Regions from separate parts of the Homo sapiens genome. Here regions 1, 3 and 4 are each linked to region 2. Evidence: promoter capture Hi-C in 16 types of primary human blood cells and fetal thymus (Javierre and others, 2016). All regions are on one chromosome and are shown on one strand. Each heading gives the region's core, a stretch centred on a gene start or on the middle of the fragment in contact. The rest is flanking DNA. Distances are from core to core; before and after follow the strand shown. Region 1 overlaps ACAT1 (acetyl-CoA acetyltransferase 1). Region 2 holds the start of C11orf65 (chromosome 11 open reading frame 65). Region 3 overlaps NPAT (nuclear protein, coactivator of histone transcription). Region 4 overlaps NPAT (nuclear protein, coactivator of histone transcription).

Region 1 (4,252 bases), core at 358-2,857, 330 kb before region 2:
GGCTTGGCCAATGTGGTGAGACCCTGTCTCTATTAAAAATACAAAAAAATTAGCCAGGCGTGGTGGTGGTGTCTGTAATCCCAGCTACTCAGGAGGCTGAGGCAGGAGAATTGCTTGAACCCGGGAGGTGGAGGTTGCATTGAGCCAAGATTGCACCACTGCACTCCAGCCTGGGTGACAAGAGTCAAACTCCGTCTCAAAAAAAGACATGAGTGAAAAGTGACCTGGTATAGAAAGAAATATATATGTGTGTGTGTATATATATATGTTATTATTATTTTTTTGAAATGGTGTCTTGCTCTGTTGCCCAGGCTGGAGTGCAGTGGCACAGTCTTAGCTCACTGCAGCCTCCGCCTCCTGGGCTCAAGCAATTCTCCTGCCTCAGGCTCCCGAGTAGCTGGGACTACAGGCACGTGCCCCCATGCCCGGCTAATTTTTAGTAGAGACGGGGTTTCACCATGTTGGCCAGGATGGTCTTGATCTCCTGACCTCATGATCTGCCTGCCTTGGCCCCCCAAAGTGCTGGGATTACAGGCATGAGCCACCACCTCCGGCCTAAGAAATATATTTTAAGAAACGTTAACTATTAAACACTATAAGTTAGGCAAAGTTAATAGATATTTTCTAAATTATGCAAAGTTAACTTTAAAATATTTCAACTTTTTATCAGGGCAGCTGTGCTGAGAATACAGCAAAGAAGCTGAATATTGCACGAAATGAACAGGACGCTTATGCTATTAATTCTTATACCAGAAGTAAAGCAGCATGGGAAGCTGGGAAATTTGGAAATGAAGTTATTCCTGTCACAGTTACAGTAAAAGGTAGAGATAATGTTCCAAAAAGGATGAATAGACTTTTCATGTTGCTGAATGTTTTATGCTTAAGTTTTAAATTAGGACATTATCTTGGTTCATTTCAACTGCTTATGGTTAATAAAAAGTGAAGAGTTGCCAGTTCAGAGAGAATATAAATCTACCCAACTTAATGTCAGATTTCAATCCATTTATAAGATCCCTGAGTATTACTTTAAATTTGAGAAATTTATTAGAACTTTTTCCTGTGACAGTCAATACGGTATTTTAAATTGAAAAGGGATTTACTAGAAGGTTACCGGGAGTGCCTCCAAGAACTGAAGGATGAACAGTAGCAACCATTCAGCTCTGGGAACTTCAGGGATTGGAACTGGGTGTTCACTACTACTAAGACATGCTCTCTTGGCTTCTCACACCTGCAGGCTTTTGTGCTTTATTCTCTCAGCCTTTCTAAAGTTGCTGCCTCTACCTCTAGGGTCACATATATAGGGTTCTCAAAAAGGAGAGACTTTCTCACCAGTTCCAGCAGAATAAATCCACAATGAAGACTCATTAACTTGCTTTAGGTTACAATTCTATTCCAGGAATGATTACTGTGCTCTAGGTGACAGAATACTAGAGCTTATCTAGTGTAGGTCAGACAGCTGCCTCTGGGGTCAGGAGAGTGGGGTCTGTGATCATAGAAGGGAGTTGAGGAAGAAAAGGGGACATGGAGGTGTAGAAGATTTAAATTTTGTGGCTGGGTGCAGTGGCTCACACCTGTAATCCCAACACTTTGGGAGGCCGAGGTGGGAGGATTGCTTGAGCCCAGGAGTTTGAGACCAGCCTGGGCAACGAAGTGAGACTTGGCCTCCACACAAAAAAATTAAAAATTAGCTGGGTATAGCAGCACACGCCTGTAGTCCCAGCTACTAGGGAATCCAAGGCAGGAGGATCAATTGAGCCCAGGAGTCCGAGGCTGCAGTGAGCTAGGTTTGTAGCATTGCACTCTATTGGGAGACTGTGCAAGACCATTTCAAACAAACAAAATTAGCTGGCTGTGGTGGCTCCCACCTGTAGTCCCAGCTACTTGGGAGGCTGAGGTGGGAGGATCACATGGGCCTGGAGAGGATGAGGTAAACTGTGATCATGCCAGCCTAAGCAGGAGAGGGAAACCCTGCCTCAAAAAAAAAAAAAAAAAAAAAAAAAATTGTGAAGCTACTTTGTAAGTTTCTCTTTTTAAGATGGTAACATAATAGAGGTTATAGTTAACAGATTCTAGATGAGTGTTTACTTGGGATGGTTTAAGTGAAGCAGGGATACAAAGGGAGGCACAGACTACTAGGCATCTTGTACAACAGTTGCTTGCTGAATGACTACTTGTTTTGAGCGATTTTACTTAAAATATTTTTATTTTAGGTCAACCAGATGTAGTGGTGAAAGAAGATGAAGAATATAAACGTGTTGATTTTAGCAAAGTTCCAAAGCTGAAGACAGTTTTCCAGAAAGAAAATGGTTAGTGTTAAGAAATGAAGCATAAGAAAAAATTGAGCCAGTATACCATATCTAGTTCTTAGAATTGCCTAAGGATTTTGAAAAATTCTAGAAAACATCTAGATGTTATTTAACATTTTCAGTATATCAGGCTCATGTAAAATTGTTTTGGTAGTTTATACCTTCAATATATAAATCCCAGGGAAGATATGTATAACATGACTATAGAATTCAGTTTTTCATATGTAGCAGTCTATGATAGGGTCTTCATTGGCATTGAAAAAAACAGATTTATTGATATAATTTATATACCATAATAACATTCTTCTATTTAAAGTGGTTTGGTAGTTTTTAACATTCATTTATATTTATCTCCAGGTGATTCTAGATAAGAATAAATATCTGATTTGAAAAATATGTAGTGAGTACCTGCTATATATTGAATAAGGAAAGTTAGACCCTGGAGACAAAAATATTAACTGGTCCCTATGTTTCAAGAGTTGTAGACGAGCATTTATCCAGTGCCATCATGCATGTTTGTGATGTTTGAGAAAACTGTTTTATGTACACAAAAAGGCATTCTTACATTGTCTTGCAGTTAGCTGTGTACATGTTTCCTGAGGGCAGGAATTGTCTCCACCCATATTTGTAATTTCTTTAAACATTTAGCAGCCCAGGCAATAGGTATTTGTTGAATTGAACCAAATACATTTATTGTGAAGGAATGTTTTGACTTCAACCTCATTTTTGCTTTCAGGCACAGTAACAGCTGCCAATGCCAGTACACTGAATGATGGAGCAGCTGCTCTGGTTCTCATGACGGCAGATGCAGCGAAGAGGCTCAATGTTACACCACTGGCAAGAATAGTAGGTAAGGCCAGGCGAGGTGGCTCACACCTGTAATCCCAGCACTTTCGGAGGTTGAGGTGGGAGGATTGCTTGAGCCCCGGAGTTCGAAATCAGCCTGGGCAATATAGTGAGACTTCGTCTCTACAAAAAGTTAAAAAATTAGCTGAGCATGGTGGCATGTGCCTGTACTACCATCTACTCGGGAAGCTGAGGTGGGAGGATGCCTTGAGCCCAGGAGTTTGAGGTTGCAGTGAACTGAGATTGTACCACTGCACTCCAGCCTGGGTGACAGAGCGAGACCCTGTCTTAAAAAAAAATAAGGTTTCTAAACATCTATAAGCTCTTCATGAAATTGAGTTTACTTGTTAGATATAGCCAACTCCAATATTAAGTATTACTACCTAGGTTGTACTTGTGGCAGAATTTAATTGATACATATTTCAATTGAGATAGAAGCTCCTTTAATATTTTCATTATACTTTATATAAGATTAAGCTTTAAGGGCTGGGCACAGTGGTTCACGCCTGTAACCCCAGCATTTTGGGAGGATAAGGCAGGATTGCTTGAGGCCTGGAGTTTGAGACCAGCCTGGGCAACACAGTGAGACCCCACCTCTGAAAGAAAAAAATTAGCCAGGTGTGGTAGCATGCCTGTAGTCCCAGTTACGTAGGAGGCTAAGGCTGACGATCATTTGAGCCCAAGATGTCAAAGCTGCAGCCAGCCTAGGCAACAGAGCAAGATCTTGTCTCTTTTTCTTTTTTTTTAAATTAAGCTTTAAAAAACTTCCTGTCCTGTATGATAAATAGCAGAAAATAAAGTACATGCATTTTCCTACAGAGGCAGCTATGTAGGAAAAAAAGAATATGGGATTAGGAGTCCAGAAATACAAAATTTACATGTGTGGTGTTTTAGTATTTATTAACTCTGTGGCCTTGGGCAAGTTCTCAATGTCCTTAAGCCGATTTTTAGCTGCAGAAATCTGTCTTGCCTTCTTCCTAAGGACTTAACAGATGCTATTTTGTTACTTTATAAAAAGCCTTATAACTTCATTTTTTTTCTTAGCTTAGATCATGGTTTCTTAACCTCAGCACTATTGACTTTTGCACTAAGTAATTCTT
Region 2 (5,962 bases), core at 643-3,142:
GGAGCAGAAAAATGGGGTGTAGCTAGAGAGTGAGAATGGATTAAAGGTTTTTTTTTAAAAAAAAAAGGCTGGGCGCGGTGGCTCACGCCTGTAATCCCAGCACTTTGGGAGGCCAAGGTGGGCGGATCATCTGAGGTTGGGAGTTTGAGACCAGCCTGACCAAAATGGAGAAATCCCGTCTCTACTAAAAATACAAAATTAGCTGGGTGTGGTGGCGCATGCCTGTAATCCCAGCTACTCAGGAAGGCTGAGGCAGGAGAATTGCTTGAACCTGGCAGGCGGAGGTTGCGGTGAGTCGAGATCATGCCACTACTCCAGCCTGGGCAACAAGAGTGAAACTCGGTCTAAAAAAAAAAAAAAACAACAACAACAACAAAAAACGACAGATTCTAAAGCATGTTAAAATGTACCATCCAGTAGTGAGGGAGAAATTAAAGTGACGGAGAACTTAAAGGGGCAAAAAAAGGGATAAGTTAAATGGTAAAACCTTTGAGTAGGTGTAAGAGGACACCATCTGGAGCAGAAAGGAGGGTGGGACCGTTGCTGGCTTTAGATAAGAAATAAGATCGACTTTATATGGTTATTATGATGCTCCAGATAAAATAACCATTGTGAAAACCCTTCATAAGTTTTAAGATACTAAAATGTACTACCAGGCCGGGTCTGGTGGCTCAGGCCTGTAATCCTAACATTTTGGGAGGCCAAGGTGGGCAGATCACCTTAAGTCAGGGGTTTGAGACCAGCCTGGCCAATATGGTGAAACCCTGTCTCTAGTAAAAATACAAAAATAAACTGGGTGTGGTGGCGCACACTTGCAGTCACAGCTACTCGGAAGGCTGAGGCAGGAGAATAACTTGAACCCAGGAGGCAGAGGTTGCAGTGAACTGAGATCACGCCACTGCACTCAGCCTGGGCAACACAGCGAGATGCCTTCTCAAAAACAAACAACAACAAAAAACTAACCAAATAAAATGTACTATCAAACAACTGCTCAGGCAATGAAGTATTTTACTACACCCATGTGCCACTTGTAGATTCACAGATAAGTATTTTCCAAGCTTATTATATCCCTAATCAATAAAATTTTTTATCATAATAGATGATGTTTTCACTTATTTATTTTTACGCTTCGTGGAAAAAAGCCCACAAGACGTGTTTGGATTCTTGGTTTCACTTTTAAAGCAGCAAACAATCTTTACTTTGCTTGAATTGGAACCTGTATACGTCCTATTTTGTTTCCTCTACTAAATTTATTGAATAAACAAATGATTCGCGTGGCCTTTATAAGTTTCGTAATTTCGCTTTTCCTTTTTACCTGTGGTCCTTGATGCTAGGGGCAGGAGAAGAAAAACTAACCTATTCTTTAAAAACGCGTTTCCCTTTTCCATCTCTAAAAAAACTGAAAAGACGTAAAACAAATGGGAGGGGGCAAAGGAAAGAAATGAGGAAAAATCTAAGGAAGATTAATGTGTACTTCCCGGTCAGCGGGAAGGTGGACGGAGTAATATCTTTGCGGAGGATTGGGGTGTGGGGATCTGTGAAGGCGCAGTATGAGCAGTAAGGACTTGTCAACCAGCCCGACGCAACTTCACCGAGGGCGAGGAAAGGAGCTCTGAGGAAGGGGTTACTCCCGGGCAGGACTGTAAACCAGCTGGAGGCCTCGCTGGGAGGGCTTTAGAGGAATGAAACGTCCTTAAGAGGGGCGGATGGGGAATGGTATCAAGGGTATGGGTTCTTTAGGGCCTTGAAACAACGAAGGCTCAAACCAGTGGGCACAAAGGCTACCGGAACAGTAGTACGCGCTGAGAGAAGGGACACTATTCCCTTCACCTACCAATCGCTGCTGGCCCGGGCGCCGCTGGACTCCTAGGTAACGTCGCAGGCGGAAATGACGTAACTCAATCCGTTCTGTCCCGCCCCATTGCCCTCCTAGCCCCGCCTTCTAGGCCCCGCCTTTCCTCTATTCGCGCTCTGACAAAGTGCAGGGGATATAGACCAACCGCTTGTGAAGGCTGCTGGTTCTGTTAGAAGCCCGCTTTCGATTGTCAGTGGCTTTGAGGCAAAGGATTTTGGAAGGGAAAGCAAAGTGATTGTCTACGAAGTTGGGCTTAGTATATAATAAAGCCCAGTCATTTCAACCAAGAACCTTAAAGATGTTGAGAAATATAATGAAATATTTTCTATTAATTTTTGTAAAATTTTTCTTGAGATAGGGTCTCAATCTGTGGCCGAGGCTGGAGTGCAGTGGCGCGATCTCGGCTCACTGCAGCCTGGAACTCCCCTGGCTCAGGTGATTCTCCCACGTCAGCCTCCCGAGTAGCTGGGACCGTAGGAGTGCACCACCACGCCAGGCTCATTTTTCTATTTTTATTAATAGTGGCGACAGGGTTTCTCCATGTTGTCCAGGCTGGTCTTGAACTCCTGGGCTCCAGCGATCCCCCCCTACCCCATCTCCCGCCTTGGCCTCCCAAAGTGCTAGGATTACAGGCGTGAACCACCGCGCCCGGCCTATTTAATTAGTTTAATTTATTCATTTGAAAATGAGACAACTGATCCTTCTAGCTATTTGACAGGTCTTGCTCAAGGTCAAAGAATACGTGACTTGCAGTCCAATGTTATTTCTAAATGTAAGCTCTTCAGCTGGTTAAGCTAAACTGCTTTAAGTGAAAACAGACGACCTCTTGAATGAGTTTTCAAATGACCTTAAATAATGCAAGCACTGCTTATCTAAAGCAAGTCTGACTTGCTTGAATTCTGAGTCTGACACTTTGGCAGTGCTTTAGTTGGTCACAGATTATTGCAATGTGAAAAAATCTTGTTCAGAACTGCCCAGTTTTGCTATGTTCGTCCTATGTTCATGCATGGAATATAATTTGTTTGTAAGGAAGATAAACTTTTAAGGAGGGAAAAGAAACACCTGAAGAGAAATTTCCCTGTATAATGAAAACATTTGTACAGAAAAAATTCTTGGTAGGTTAATTCAGTGACTCACTGAACTTCCAGAGTTCTTTAAAATCATCACAATCATAAGCAAGGGGTGAGCTTCAGTTCCTCTTTATGTAGTTGCCTTGATGCATTAATACACAGTAGTTATGAACAATAAACTGTAAAAATATAGTCATGGAAACATTATGTATATCTTAATTTTCAATCTAATAGAAACTGGGTTAAAAAATTTAAATTCAGGCCAGGTGTGGTGGCTCACACCTGTAATCCCAGCACTTTGGGAGGCTGAGGTGGGCGGATCACTTGAGGTCAGGAGTTCAAGACCAGCCTGGACAACATGGTGAAACCCCCTCTCTACTAAAAATACAAAAATTAGCCCAGCCTCCCAAGTAGCTGGGACTACAGGCGCCCTCCATGATACCCGGCTAATTTTTTGTATGTTTAGTAGAGACGGGGTTTTACTGTGTTAGCCAGGATGGTCTCAATCTCCTGGTGGCGCGCTGCCTGTAGTCCCAGCTACTCAGGAAGCTGAGGCAGGAGAATTGATAGAACCCGGGAGGCAGAGGTTGGTTGCAGTGAGCCGAGATAGCGCCATTGCACTTCAGCCTGGCAACACAGCAAGATTCCCTCTAAAAAAAAAAAAAAATTAAATTCAAAATTACACAACAATGTGAATGTACTTAAGTCCACTGAATTGTACAATTGAAACTAGTTAGAAGGATAAATTTATGTATATTTTACCACAATTTAAAAATTTTAAATTAAAAAACTGCAAAACTAAGCCAGTAAATAATTTAGAACAAAAATTCCTAAATGTACTGGATGAAATATAAAAATAAATTTAAGGTATACTGCTGTTTAGATATTATTTTTATTAGGTTGGTGCAAAAGTAATTGCGGTTTTTGTCATTAAACATACATAATTAAACATAATGGCAAAAACCGCGATTACTTTTGCATCAACCTAATAAACTGCATATTTTTAATGTAGTGCTTATCTGAATTATTTTAAAAAGTATTTACAATAGTTACTGTTGAGTACTTATGTTACCTCTAACCTGATCCACAAGAATTCAGCAATTTCTACATAACAGGCTAGAACATTTTCTTATTGCTCTAATACATGTAAAAATTGTTCAGTTCTTTAAAAGTATCTTTCTTTAAAGTAGCCACAAGGGATCATTAAGACTAGAAACTGTCAAGTGTTAGGTTTATTCATTTATATGTACCTGCTTAAATCTAGGAACAGTTTACTAAGACGCAGAACTCAGAAGAACTTCTGGGTGGTTTCACAGAAATCGTTCCTTCCTTCCTTCTCTCTTCCCCTCTCCACTTATTCTCTTCCTCTTCTTTTTCTCTCTTCTTTGTCTTACTACTATTATACAATATATCATATTATATTTATGAAATTAATATTCTTGCTTTCCACTTACAAGGCAAAGATTTTTCTTTATAAACCATGTGAAGACAAGAGATAAGGAAACAAAAATGAATTGGCATGAGGAAAGGGGAAATATCTGTAGTGCCGAGGGAGAAGAGTCACAATTACATGCCATTTTGCCTAGGGAGAAGAGTCACAATTATATGCCATTTCTTTCCTCTCTGCTTTGGCACTGGAGCAAACTCCAACAATAGGGGACTCCAAGGCTGTCTCCCGGATGTGAGCATGGAATCTTTTATAATTGTGGAAAATATGTCATGTAGTAGAAAACCACAATGTCACACATGAGGAGTGGGTGTGGGTCAAAGGCACAGGTCCTGCAGTGGTCCTAAAGGAGGCCAGAGGGACCTCCAACCAGGCATCAATCCTCTTGTTGAGGCTTAGCAGTTTGAAGAGGCTAGAGGAAGGGAGTTGGCACCTTTAGCTAATTCTTGGCTGAGAAATCTGTCCTCTTCACTACAGTGACTCTTGTTATGCCAGGGGACTGTTTGTCTTCTGTGTACCCTTGTTGTATTTTCTTTTTCTTTTTTTTTTTTTGTTTTTGAGATGGAGTCTCGCTCTGTTGCCCGGGCTGAAGTGCAGTGGCAGGATCTCAGCTCACTGCAAGCTCTGCCTCCTGGGTTCACGCCATTCTCCTGCCTCAGCCTCCCAAGTAGCTGGGACTACAGGCGCCCTCCATGATACCTGGCTAATTTTTTGTATTTTTAGTAGAGATGGGGTTTTACTGTGTTAGCCAGGATGGTCTCGATCTCCTGACCTTGTGATCCACCCACCTCGGCCTCCCAAAGTACTGGGATTACAGGCGTGAGCTACCATGCCTGGCCCCTTTTAGTATTTTCACCATCAACAAAAATAATGGTGCCAAGCTTAAATATTTTTTCTTTTCTTTTCTTTTTTTTTTTTTTGAGACTGTAACCACACAATGAGTTCTCCTTGTCTGCTGCCTAGACAGAGCCAATTTATCAAGACAGGGGAATTGCAATAGAGTTTAATTCTTGCAGAGTTGGCAGTATGGGAGACCGCAGTTTTATTTCTTGAATCAGTCTCCCTGAAATGTCAGGGATTGTGGTTTTTAAGGACAATTTGGTGGGTAGGGGATCAGAAAGTGGGGAGCTGCTGATTAGTTGGGTCAGAGATGAAATCAAAGGGAGTCGAAGCTGTCCTCCTATGCTAAGTCAGTTCCTGGGTCGGGGCCACAAGACCAGATAAGCCAGTTTATTGATCTGAGTGATGCTAGTGGAATCATCAAGTGCAGGGTCTGCAAAATATCTCAAGCACTGATTTTAGGTTTACAATAGTGATGTTATCCCCAGGAGCAATTTGAGGAGGCTCAAAGTCTGGCAGCCTTCAGATGTATGAATCCTAAATCATAATTTCTATGTTTCAGCTAATTTGTTAGTCCTGCAAAGGCAGTCTAATCCTCAGGCATGAAGAGGGCTTCTTTTGGGAAAGCGCTGTTACCATCTTTGTTTCAAAGTTAAACTATAAACTAAGTTCCTCCCAAGGTTAGTTTGGCCTATGCCCAGGAATAAACAGGGACAGCTTGGAGGTTAGAATCAAGATGGAGTTGGTTAG
Region 3 (6,264 bases), core at 3,125-5,624, 300 kb before region 2:
AGACAGAGTCTCATTATGTTGCATAGGCTGATCTCAAACTCCTGGGCTCAGTGATCCACCTGTCTTGGCCTCCCAAAGTGCTGGAATTATAGGAGTGGAGCCATTGTGCCCAAAGTCTTCTCATTTTAAAAAAAGAAATCCCAGGCCAGGCGTGGTGGCTCACGCCTGTAATCCCAGCACTTTGGGAGGCCGAGGTGGGGGGATTAAGAGGTCAGGAGTTCAAGACCAGCTTGGCCAAGATAGTGAAACCCTGTCTCTACTAAAAATACAAAAATTAGCTGAGTGTTGTGGCATGCACCTGTAATCCCAGCTACAAGGGAGGCTGAGACAGAAGAATCGCTTGAACCCGGGAGGCGAAGGTAGCAGTGAGCTGAGATCATGCCACTGCATTCCAGTCTGAGTGACAGAGCAAGACTCCCATCTAAAAAAAAATAAAAAAATAAATAAATCCTTTATCCTAATGTCATAAAAATATTCTCTTATACATTCTTCTATCATTTAATTGTTTGACTTTTTACTTTTAGGTCTTTAATCATCTTGGACTTCATCTTTGTATGAGGAAGGGATCTACTTTCTTCTCTATATATTGTATATTTAATGATCAATACATTTCATATATTATACCATCCATCTTGCTCTGACTTCTGATGTTAACATTACCATGTACAAGGTCTCTTTCTAAACTATCTTGTTCCATTTGTCTTTTTGTTTTAATTACTGTGGCTCTGCAATATTTTACCATTTGGTAGAATGAGTCTGTCCTCTGCTCTTCTATCTTGGCTAGTCATGGACTTTTATTCTTTCTCATAGATTTTATAGTTTTTCCCATCTCCCAAAATATTCTACTGGGATTTTTAAGGAAAATTACATTGAATTTTTGATTCAACTTGGAATAATTGCAATCTTTACACTGTTAAATTTTCAAATCTATGAACATGGTTCTCTTCTATTTATACATCCTTTATGAAAGATTTCAAATATTCTCCATTTCTAACATTTTTGGTTAGGTTACTTCCTTTATACTTTATCATTTTTGTGGTCATTATAAACAGTATCTTATTTTGTATAACACTTAATAGGTGTTTATTGTTGGCACCTAAAACACAATTTTAATTAACCATACCTGGCAACTTTACTGAATTATTAGTTCTATTAATTTTTCTATTAACTCCCTGTGGCTTTATTGTGTAAAAATCACATCATTTTCCATAACAGTTTAATTCCCTCTCTTCAAATCTTTACACCTATCTCTTTTCTTTTCTGAGACAGGGTCTCACTGTTGCCCAGACTGGAATGCAGTGGCATGATCATGGCTTACTTACAGCCTCAACCTCCTGGACTTAAGCAATCCTTCTGCCTCACCCTCCCGAATAGTTGGGACTACTATCTGCCACCACAGCTGGCTACTTTTAAAAAATTTATTTTCTAGAGATGTGGTCTCACTATATTGCCCAGGCTGGTCTCAAACTCCTAGACTCAAACAATCCTCCTGCCTCAGCCTCCCAAGGTGCTGGGATTATGGGGATGAGCCACCATGCCCAGCTCCATTTTCTTACTGTATTGTCTGGAACCACATATGTATGGATGTATGGGACCTTGTTTATGGTGGAAGTATAATCAGATGTCAGTGGGGCAAAAAACTGATTACTTAATAATTAATTTACTGGTGTTGGAAACACTGGCTTATTACATACAGGGTGGGAATGAGTATCTTTGTGTTATTCACAGCTTTAAAGGGAACCCATGATGTTTACTATAGATAGCCTTTAAGAGCTTTTATCATAAATGGATGCTTAACCTCACCAATGTTTTTTTCTGGTATCAACTTTGTAAGGGATAAAAACAAGTGTCAGACTGTGAAGACATCTGTGATATGTTACTAATAAAAGTATAACACCTCAACAGACAGGAAATTTAATAGAGAAGTAGGAAAAGGATATGAATAAGCAATTCACAGAAGGGAAAATATTATTTATAGTTATAAGAGAAGATTCCAAACTTTATTAGTAATCAGAATAAAGTAAAAGAATGATATGAGATACTACCACTTTAAATCCATCATAGTGGCAAAAGTTAAAATATCACATGGTATCAAATATTGGTAGTGTTGTGAGGGAAGCAGGGAAAATAATGGTAGAAGTATAAATTTTCTTCTCTATGACTCAGAAATTCTGGGTCATAGAGAAGATATACTTCTTCTCTATTATACCCAGTATACCCAAAGATTTCTGGGAATAAGCCCCCAAAGAAACTCTCATATGGGTTCACACAGAGGCATTTACAAAGATGTTCCTCATATCATTGCATGTCACATCGAAAACATCTGAAAAGTCCACTGATAGGACATATATAAAATACATTTATGCAAGTGATAGATATCAAATGGCCATTAAAAGGAATGAACTAGTTATAAGAAAGAACATAAAAATAATATAGAGTAGCTATAACAGGACATAAGTCTAAGAGGGTGCCTCAATAAGTCAAAATGCAACTTAAGCCTACATCAATAGATGTATACTGTTTAGTTTAAGGAAAGGCTGATTTGATAGCAGTTAGTTGAGTTCTCTGTATAATGAGTGCATTTAAGATACTCAGACTACTGAGAAGAAATACAATGTAATGTGTTAAGTGCTGTAGCATAGGTATCACTAAGAATTAAAGAAAAAAATAAAACCGGAATATCCACCTCAGCCACCGCTGGTTAAAAATGCTTCCTAGGAACATTTAAGTTAATTTCGAAGGATAAATAAGAACCAGATTGAGGGTAAGAGTTGGGTAAGAAGGGGGAATTCTAGGTAGAAGAGATAGCATTGGTAAAAGGTACAGGGACAAGAAAGATCACCAAGTATAAGGTGAGCAGCAACTATAGTTTGTACAAAGGGTCCATGCTGGGAAGTGGTAAGAGATGAGATGGAGAGGTCGAGAGTGACTAGATGACAAATGTATGCACATATGTCACCCTGAGAAATTTCAATTTTATCCTTTGGGCAAAGGGGAGTTGCTGAAAGTTTTTAGGCAGGAAAGCAACATATTCAGATTTGTATTTTAGGGAAAAAAAGTCACTCAGCCAGCAGATATGAGGTGAACTGAAACAACAGAGACTAAAAGAAGGGAGACTACATGACACTATTGATACAACTTAGATGAAAAATGACAAATACTTGAACTAAGAAGGAGAGGAAAATGTGTTTTAAGAGTGACTACCAGGTTTTTCACAAGTAAACAGATGGTTGGGACAATGGCTAAAACAGGGAACACAGGAAGGTAATTTGCAAACTTTAAAGCCTTGCTTCAAGTGTGGTCCAGTACCAGCAGCACTGGCATTGCTTAGAAGCTGTTAGAAATGAGGAATTTCAGGTGCTGTACCAGACCTATCAATTCAGTACCTGCATTTAACAAAATCCCCAAATAGTTCATATACACACTAAACTACAAGAAGAACTGCTCTAAAGTCTCATACAATTATACGAGGCATTCATTAAACACTTGAAAGCTGTTGGGAAAAATAGGGACTATACTTAATTTAGGGAAGCTGCAAAGAACAAACCAAGGACTACTGGGCAAAAGCTAACAGATTCAACAAAGGAGACAATTTTCTCAGAACCAAAGCTGTTCAGTAACAGTTGGCTGCATTATGACATCTGTTACTAGCAAATGTAGGGTGATCACTTGTTTTAAAATGGTTTAGGTATTCAGAAAGAAAACATTTAGGTGTTGCTGCAAACAAATGAACATACAAACATAAAGTTAACATTAATGAAATTAAAAATGGTACCTATACAAGGCTTGTTTCTTAGTCCCTGAGCCTTCTGAGATTTTGGAGGGACGGGGAATTGAGGGATACTTCTATTGCATACAGGTGCTGTCAAAGGCATATGAAGAACCTGGAAGAGAAAAAGCCATTAATTACACTAAGCTTGAAAAGCATCACCACACCATTTTCAGTTCATAAATCTTACCTGCCGAGGAGGAGTAGAAAAGTTATTTCCATTCTGTCCAACCACAGATACTGGGATCATCCCTACCATTCCTTGGAGTACAGGCTGGACTGGAGAGGCAATTATTATGGCAGATCCTAAAAAAACAATTCTTGTTAAAAAAAGATTTTCTCTGAAATGTTTTGGCACAAAACAAACAAATGTTTGGCACAAATTAATTACTGCTTTGAAATAAATTCTATGAACAATCCCTCTTCCTTACGATCCACTCTCCAAAAACAAAACAAAACAAAACAAAAAAAACGAAACTGAAACAGTTTTAGGAAAAACAGCAAGGCTAACAAATTAAGAAAAAGTCAATCCAAATATTAAGGTGGTCTTAATGTTATTCAGTCAGTGAACCATGCTGATCAAGCATAAGACTCTACAGCCAAGACATCATATTACAATCATATCTGGATTCCTCTAGAAATAATGAAACTAGTTAGAAAATGAGTGGTGAATGTTTCAAGTCTGAACCTTACACCAGAAAATTACAACCCCAACTGAATATTTATACCCAGGACTACACTTGTAACCCCAACCTATTACATATCTCAATGGTATTGATCAAAAGGGGGTAAGGTAAGCACGTAACTGGTCAAAACTATGGAGGGAAAATTACAATGTCTACATGGTCCTCAGAAGTCAACAACATAGTTTGTGGCTACTGTAATTTAGTCCTGTCCATAAACAAACTTTTGCCTAATACACTACTGTCAGGTTGATCCCCTCATTTTCATGCAACCTACTACGGTCTCTCTGTCTATGCTGGTGCTGCTTCTCTTTATAACTTACAGATTTTATAAGTTATAAAAACTTCCTTGCTTTAACTCCAAATCCTACCTTCATTCTTTAAGCTTTAGCTCAAGCCCCACATTCTCTATTAATTCTGACCTCTCCTTTATGTAATTTGTAACAGCACGTAAAACAGACCCATTAGGTTTAATACTAATTGTTGATATTTAATGAAATTTTATTGTATGTCTATAATGTAACAAAAAGGGAAAAGAGGGAAGCTTGGGAACCAACACATAAGGAAATGTAAATAAATGTGCCATGAGCACTATCTCTGAGGAACATACAATAAAAAATTATCAATATGATAGGCATATCAATCACTAACTACATATAACACAGCACGCAATAAATGCCACAAGAGCCCCTATGAAAAAAGGATTTTTTTTTTTTTTTTTTTTTTTGGAGACAGAGTCTTACTCTGTCACCCAGGCTGAAGTGCAGTGGTGCGATCTTGGCTCACTGCAACCTCTGCCTCCCAGCTTTAGATTCTTCTGTCTCAGCCTCCCAAGCAGCTGGGATTACAGGTGCCCACCACCATGCCAATTTTTGTATTTTTAGTAGATACGGGGTTTCACCATGTTGGCCAGGCTGGTCTTGAACTCCTGACCTCGGGTGATCTGCCCGCCTCGGCCTCCCAAAGTGCTGGGATTACAGTCATGAGCCACTGAGCCCAGCCATAAACAAAGGATTTTAAAGACAGAGATCAATTAGAAAGGATTTTATAAAGGAAGAAATTCAAGTTTTTTTTTTTTTTTGAGACAGAGTCTCGCTCTTGTTGCCCAGGCTGAAGTGCAATGGCATGATCTTGGCTCACTGAAACCTCTGTCTCCTGGGTTCACGAGATTCTCCTGCCTCAGCCTCCCAAGTAGCTGTAATTACAGGCACCTGCCACCATGCCTGGCTCATTTTTTTGTATTTTTAGTAGAAATGAGGTTTCACCATGTTCTCGAGGCTGGTCTCAAACTCCTGACCTCAGGTGATCGATCGGCCCACCTCGGCCTCCCAAAGTGCTGGGATTACAGGCGTGAGCCACCATAACCGGCTGAAATTCAAGTTTTTCTTGAAAATTTCTCCAAAAAGATGATGAATTCCCTGAAGACCATGACTATAAGAGCTATTTTTAAAAACTCCCCCACAACATTGGGTTTTATACAACTATGTGATGAATTAGTCTGTCTTTTCTGTTTATTGTAACTTACTAGCACATAGATTGAGAAGTATTTGTGAAAAGAAAAAAGAAAAACCACTAAAGCCCATAGCTTACTAGCAGATTAAGAAAAATAAAAAAGGTTTGAATTAGCTAGCATAAAGAAGCAGCGTAATCACAAATTTCAGAATCTTTTCTCATACCATCTACTCATTAGTTATTACTTCGCAGTCAATAACATCACATACAAAAGAAATTAGATCCCAACCCAGAGAAACAAATTTCAATTATGTTATTAAAGTTACCTTGTGAAAAGTTTGGTGACACAGCTTGGTTGAC
Region 4 (6,739 bases), core at 1,302-3,801, 270 kb before region 2:
AAAATGAACAGAAGATAATTTAACTTTAGAAACTCTACATATTAACATTTTTGAGTAAGAATATACAAAGTATACATTTTTTATTATCTTTCACAATTATAGAGATGCCTTCCCACAGAGAAATTCTGATTTCACATGACTCCATATATAAATACTTCAGAATCCCCAAGTTGATGTCAGAGGACATCCAGCTTTTATAAAATTTATGACTATGAAATTATTTTATTGTACCTCTAAAGAAGATGCCAACAAACATGGAAAAATTCACAGTACAAGTTAATTCTTTTAGTATGAATTAGAGTGGCCCACCCCTTTATTCGATAAAGTCACAGACACGGTGCCATTATCATAAAAAATATGTCAAGTAAGTCTCCAACAAGATCCACAAAACTCGAGTCAGGAAAGAGAAATATAAAGATAAGACTACCAAGTAAGATGTGGTCCAGAGTTAAGAAGAAAGCATTTGGAGCCATTTTAGCAGGTTAAGCAGAGGAAGAAAATGAAACCCATGCTGAAGTTAGGTGGGGTAGTCACTTATAGCTCTGAAAGAAAGGTTAAGAGACTATGGTTTTCATAACAAATTCTATAGTCAAATATGAGATTTTCATAAAATTGATAACAGAAGATTTCAGAATTAGCATTATTCTTCAAGCTTTTTTCTTTACAAGTTAAGAAACCAAGTGGGCATGGGTTCAACGCATCAATTCTGTGAATATGTAATAAAGAGACAGTTGCCTAAGGGAATTCACAGTGGCCTGGGATTAGGTGATTTGTATTCTAACAATATATCTGCCTTTAAATTGCTATGGAAACTTGGAAATGTCATTAAACTACTACATATCTTAGTTTTCTAAATATTTTATTAAAAGTATGCTATTTATTTCAAATTATGTCAGTCAGTAACCTCCACAGTACCAGCAACCTCTAGAGTAATTTCAAAACTGGATGAGTGTTATATAAGTACACTGTGTAGGTCTTAAGAAGATTTAAACCCAAAGTGTATTTGCATTCCAAAATCATTAGGCACATTCTAATAGCTTATTACCTGATCTGAGAAAGTGTATGGTCCAATTTCTTCCATAGAGATGACATTATTGCTGGGACATTATTTGATGTTTCTAAATCATAGGAGAAAAGGTTCTTAATAAACCCAGCTGAAGAAATTTCATCATTCATTCTGAACAAAGACACACAAAAAACCTTGTCTCTCAATTATTGACAGTATGTTGGAAAATGAGAAATAAATCTATGTTGTAAAATAGCTTGCAAAGCTATAATGCGGTTGCTTTCTCTTCTAAAGCCACTGAGTATCAGATACAATATGAGTAGAAATGGACATCTGTAAAATCTCTGAAGCATTTTTTGGCCAATAATTTTACACCTTCATTTTATTAAAAAAAGGAGAAACAATTTTTTGATCTTTGTTCTATCTGATATCATGTGACATATGAAAGTGAATTAAAGTAATCTGTCTTATAATAATTATCATAAAGGTTATGCAAATTCCTTATAAGTGTGGAAATTTAATCCTCAATTTTCTCATATTTAAAAATGGCTTTAAACAATCTCTCTCACTGGGTTATTCTAAAGACTAAATGAGAGGCCGGGCATGGTGGCTCACGCCTGTAATCCCAGCACTTTGGGAGGCTGAGGTGGGCAGATCATGAGGTCAGGAGTTTGAGACCAACCTGGCCAACATAGTGAAACCCTGTCTCTACTAAAAACACAAATATTAGCTGGGCATGGTGGCGTGCGCCTATAGTCCCAGCTACTCGGGAGACTGAGACAGGAGAACTGCTTGAACCCGGGAGACGGAGGTTGCGGTGAGCCGAGATCGCGCCATTGCACTCCAGCCTGGGCAACAGAGCGAGACTCCCGTCTCAAAAAAAAAACAAACAAAGAAAAGACTAAATGAGAAAAAAAACATATGAAAGCACGTAGCACAATGCTTATACACAGACAATGTCAAAAAATGTCAAGCTTCTTTTCCTTTGTTATCATCTTATGCGAATTCTTTAGTGCTAATTGTTTTGTTAATGTTGTAAGCTATTGAAAATAATCAATATTAGAGAATAAGCAGTCAAAACTTTCCCTCTAAAACATCCTTAATTTAGGCAAGTAGAATTTTATATTCTAGTAACTATAAGCCAGTGTATGACTGGCTTCTGTGTTCAGACTTAGACTACATAGAATTAAAATTAAAATGTCAGTTTAAAACTTTTTAACACATAGTGATGTCTGTTTATCAGTGTAGATAACACAGAGGTAAGAGTTTTATTTTACATATTTTTTAAAGGTAGTTTTTGGGTTATTTTTGCTAACATAAAGATTGTTGCAATTTATGTACCACTCAATGTAAACACAAACAAATGGCTGGGGGCAGTGGCTCACACCTGTAATCCCAGCACTTTGGGAGGCCGAGGTGGGTGGATCACCTGAGGTCGGGAGTTCGAGACCAGCCTGACCAACATGGAGAAACCCTGGCTCTACTAAAAATACAAAATTAGCCGGGCATGGTGGCGCATGCCTGTATTCTCAGCTACTTGGGAGGCTGACTGAGGAGAATCGCTTGAATCCAGGAGCTGGAGGTTGCAGTGAGCTGAGATTACGCCACTGCACTCCAGCCTGGGCAACAAGATTGAAACTCCGTCTCAAAAAAAACCAAAAAAACAAAAAACAACAACCAAAAAAACAAAACAAAACAAAAAACCAAAACCCACAAACAAATTAGATGTGTCCCAGAAAAATTTATCTCATTACAACAGGGACAAGTTTTTTCAAGGCTTTTATGAGACATTAATAACCTTTAGAAATCATTTTTAACTAAATCAAGTAGATAAATATTGTATACATCAGCAAAAAAACTCCAAATCAGAACTCTTACCTTTTGTTTTCATAGCTACATACTCATTTAAAATTGTTGTCAAGTTTTTTCCAAATAAGGACTGAAAAGAAAAAGATCAAATATTACCAAAATTGTATAATACTACCAATAATTTCTCACAAGAAAAGATTCTACCATTCAACTTAATAAAAGATCTGACTGCAGAGTAGCGATGAGGAAAGGGTAAAGAAGCAGGTAATCGAAAATGAAAATAGCCACTGAAATTAGGGTTTGCATCCAAGCTTCTAAAGAATCTTGCCTGTTTGACTAGGACATTATAGCTACTTGGGTATCACTGCTTCCAGACCCTCTCAGCAGACAGCTATACATACATGTACAAATGCATATACACAAGCATTTGTATCATCTAGCTGTATATATATATATTAAAATAACTACAGTGTCATACCAATATCTCAGACTATAACCCAACACCACTGGTTTCATTATTATGTTTATTTGTATCTTCTTCCTCACACAGTGAGAAATCTGGCTCCCACTATCTACAATTTGTTATTTGTTCAGAATTGTTAATTTAGAAGAAATCAGAAGGATTTATTTAATATTCATCCACGTTATTGTGTGAATCAATAGCATGTTGCTTTCTATTGCTGAGTAGTGGAGTATTGCTGTTATGAACACATCAGAGTTTGTCAATTTTTGAAAGACATCTTCGTTGTCACCAGTTTTTAAAATTTATTTTTATTTTTTAGAGACAGGGTCTTGCTCTGTCACACAGGCTGGAGTACAGTGGCTGCTCACAGCTTACTATAGCCTCGAACTCCTGGCTTCAAGCCATGTTCCTACCTCAGCCTCCCACAGTGCTGGGATTAAAGGTGTGAGCCATCACGCCTGGCCTGTTTTCAGTATTTTTTTTTTTTTTTTGAGATGGAGTCTTGCTCTGTTGCCCAGGCTGGAGTGCAGTGGCACAATCTCGGCTCACCAAAACCTCTGTCTCCTGGGTTCAAGCGATTCTCCTGTCTCAGCCTCCCGAGTAGCTGGGACTACAGGCGCACGCCATCATGCCCAGCTAATTTTTGTATTTTTAGTAGAGATGGGGTTTCACTATCTTGGCCAGGATGGTCTTGAACTCTTGACCTCGCTATCCACTCGCCTTGGCCTCCCAAAGTGCTGGGATTACAGGTGTGAGCCACCACACTTAGCCTGTTTTCAGTTTTTAGCCACTATAAGCAAACACCAGTGTCTAGGTTTTTCTGTGAGAACAAGTTTTCCAATTGATTTGGGTAATGTGAGTGTTGGTTCACATGAGGAGTACATGCATAATCATATAATCATGTCATAATCATGTCAAACTGTTTTCAAAAGCCACTGTATGACTTTTAATTCTTACCAGTAAGAAACAAGAGTTCCTGCTGCTCTGCATATTTGTGGTGAAGGACTTGCCAGTTTTTAAACCTGTTTTCTTATTTTAGCCATTCTAACAGGAATTAGTATCTCACTGGGGTATTAATTTGCATTTTCTTAATGACTAATGATATGGAAGATCTTTTCATATGCTTATTGCCATCTGTATATTTTCTTTGGTAAAGTATCTTCAGATCTCTTATCCACTTAAAAAATTGTTTGGTTTTTGTTGTTAAGTTTTAAGAATTCTATACATATGTTCTGGGTACAAACCCTTTATCAGACATGTAAGATATAAATATTTTCACCCAGCCTTTTTTTTTTGGGACAGGGTTTTACTCTGTCACCCAGGCTGAAGTGCAGCCGTGCAGTTGTGGCTCACAACAGCCCTGACCTCCTGGGCTCATGCAATCCTCCAGCCTCATCCTCCCAAGCAGCTGGGACTAAGTGCACCACTATACCTGGCTAATTTTTAAAAATTGTTTTCTAGAGATGAGGTCTCACTATGTTGCCCAGGCTGGTACAGAACTCCTGAGTTCAAGCAATCCTCTTGCCTGGGCCTCCCAAAGTGCTGGGATTATAGGCATGAGCCATTGGGTCTGGCCCAGCCTATTTCTTCTAACGTGCCTCTTGTAGAGCAAGTTTTTAATTTTTTATAAAGTTGAATTTGCCTAATTTTTGCCTTTATAGCCCATGCTTTTGGTGTCATATATAAAACTCACTGTCAAATCCAACTTTGCACAATTTTTTTCTTATGTTTTCATTTAGAAGTCTTACGGTCCTGTGTTTTACATTCTGATCCATTTTGGTTAATTTTTGCATAAGGTATGAGGTATTTGTAGAGGTTCTTTTTCTACATATGGATGTCTGAGTGTTCCAGCAACATTTGTTGATAAGACCATCCTTTCTGCAATGAATTGTCTTTAATCCTTTGTCAAAATCAGATGTGTGGGTCTCTACATGGACTTGTATGTGGTTCCACATGCCTAAACTATCAAAAATGCCCCTTCATCTCGATTATCATAGTTTTTTAGTAAGTCTTGAAGTCTGGTAATGTGAGTCCTCCAAGTTGTTCTTTTTCAGAAACTGTTTAGGCTATTCTAGTTTCTTTTCCATTTAAAACTTAGAATTCAGCTTTGTGTTATCTATAAAAATGCTTGCAGGCATTTTGACTGTGAAAAATCTATAATTAAATTGGGAGGAACTAACACCTTAACAATATTGAGTCTCTCAATTTGTACACACAATACAATTCTCCTTTTATTCAGGCCTTAGATCTCAGGCAATTTTGAGCATTTGGATTTCACACATATTTTGTTAGATTATCTCTAAGCATTTTGTTTGTTTGTTTGTTGCTATTATAAACGGGTATTTTCAAAATCCAATTGTTCATTGCAGGCATACGGAATATAATGGATTTGTGTATATTCTGTATTCTATGACCCTGCTTAACTTTAGTTTTGCATCATTTTCAGTTTCCTAAGCAGACATTCATGTTATCTGTGATAGCCTTTAAGGAGCCATGATTAAAATAAAATGGCAAACACCATGTGAAATGATGTAGTTCTGGAAGGTATCCACTATGTACCAAATGATGGTTTGTTGGTCTAGTGATATTTAACAAAAGAGATGACAATAATATATCAAAATATCTGTTTTATATTTGTCTAAAAGGAGCAGCCAGATACAGGTCAGGAAGAAAAAAAAAGGCTTGGAGACAGCAGCAGCGAAACTAATCAGAAACGAGGGTGTCATTTTGAAACTAACTCTCGGAGTCAAAGTTGTAATTCATTTAATAGTTTTGGCATAAATTTGTAAAAAGAAAAGCTGGTCTTCTTTGGGTCTTACCAGTCATGCATGAATATAAACCACCAAATTTCTGCCAATTTCAATTTTTTTTTTCTGATAAGCTGATTTTATGACTATGTTTTTAGTCTCTTGTGTTGATGAAATATTTCCCTTAAGGAACAAATAACTCACCAGTAAGCAGGCTGGAATAAACCCTTCATCTGTACAATGTTCTGCATATTCTTTTAAATCTGAACTTTCCAAAATAAAAGTCTGGCAGGTAGAAATGAGGTTTTCTTGCTGTAAGTAACCTAAATAAAAAATAAAAGTTTAGGTACTTATACTAAATTCTGTACTTTTGGTTAAAACTGCTATTGAAAATGCTGTAGCATGTACTGATGTCACAATTGAAACCTTAGGTGGAATGCTCTAGTGTTTGGCAGCCTTGAACAGAAACACCAGGTTGTGCTGCAATACAAAGTACAGTTCATAGAACAGGTGGCCCTTTCACAAGAAACAATTCTAGCTAAACTAGTAAAATAAAGTGTTTAACAAAGTATAATTACTTCACAGTACTTACAGGAGAACCAATAAATTAATGATAAATAACTATGTCCCTCTACTGCATAACTTCCATAAAGACCAAGTCAGTTGATGGTATAAATTCACTTACTGCGTTATCAGAAAACTATGTTCTCACAA

Evidence for each region. The method cuts DNA at HindIII sites, captures the fragments that hold promoters and counts their contacts. A CHiCAGO score of 5 or more calls a contact.
Region 1: a contact is called between a fragment that was not itself captured here and the fragment with the promoter of C11orf65 in region 2, in 2 of 17 cell types (total CD4 T cells and naive CD4 T cells). The highest score is 5.8, in total CD4 T cells.
Region 3: a contact is called between a fragment that was not itself captured here and the fragment with the promoter of C11orf65 in region 2, in 1 of 17 cell types (naive CD8 T cells). The highest score is 5.3, in naive CD8 T cells.
Region 4: a fragment that was not itself captured here is called in contact with the fragment with the promoter of C11orf65 in region 2 in 1 of 17 cell types (total CD4 T cells); the score reaches 5.5 in total CD4 T cells.

What each region holds. Positions count from the first base shown.
Region 1 is chr11:108,139,395-108,143,646 of GRCh38, forward strand. ACAT1 (acetyl-CoA acetyltransferase 1) reads left to right here. Exons shown (of 12, transcript NM_000019.4): 7 at 671-821; 8 at 2,211-2,306; 9 at 3,043-3,156. Among named protein-coding and RNA genes, the nearest start is that of ACAT1, 20 kb to the left of the region's middle. The HindIII fragment of the contact is 4,039 bases long and covers 1-3,627 here.
Region 2 is chr11:108,465,637-108,471,598 of GRCh38, forward strand. It overlaps C11orf65 (chromosome 11 open reading frame 65), which reads right to left and starts at 1,893. Exons shown (of 9, transcript NM_152587.5): 1 at 1,835-1,893. RefSeq lists a silencer at 1-80, enhancers at 1,112-1,964, 1,905-2,049 and a cis regulatory region at 1,977. The HindIII fragment of the contact is 4,195 bases long and covers 1,057-5,251 here.
Region 3 is chr11:108,165,969-108,172,232 of GRCh38, forward strand. NPAT (nuclear protein, coactivator of histone transcription) reads right to left here. Exons shown (of 18, transcript NM_002519.3): 13 at 6,231-6,264; 14 at 3,960-4,075; 15 at 3,776-3,884. Among named protein-coding and RNA genes, the nearest start is that of ACAT1, 48 kb to the left of the region's middle. The HindIII fragment of the contact is 921 bases long and covers 3,915-4,835 here.
Region 4 is chr11:108,191,073-108,197,811 of GRCh38, forward strand. It overlaps NPAT (nuclear protein, coactivator of histone transcription), which reads right to left. Exons shown (of 18, transcript NM_002519.3): 2 at 6,230-6,348; 3 at 2,885-2,945; 4 at 1,046-1,118. Among named protein-coding and RNA genes, the nearest start is that of NPAT, 28 kb to the right of the region's middle. The HindIII fragment of the contact is 1,146 bases long and covers 1,979-3,124 here.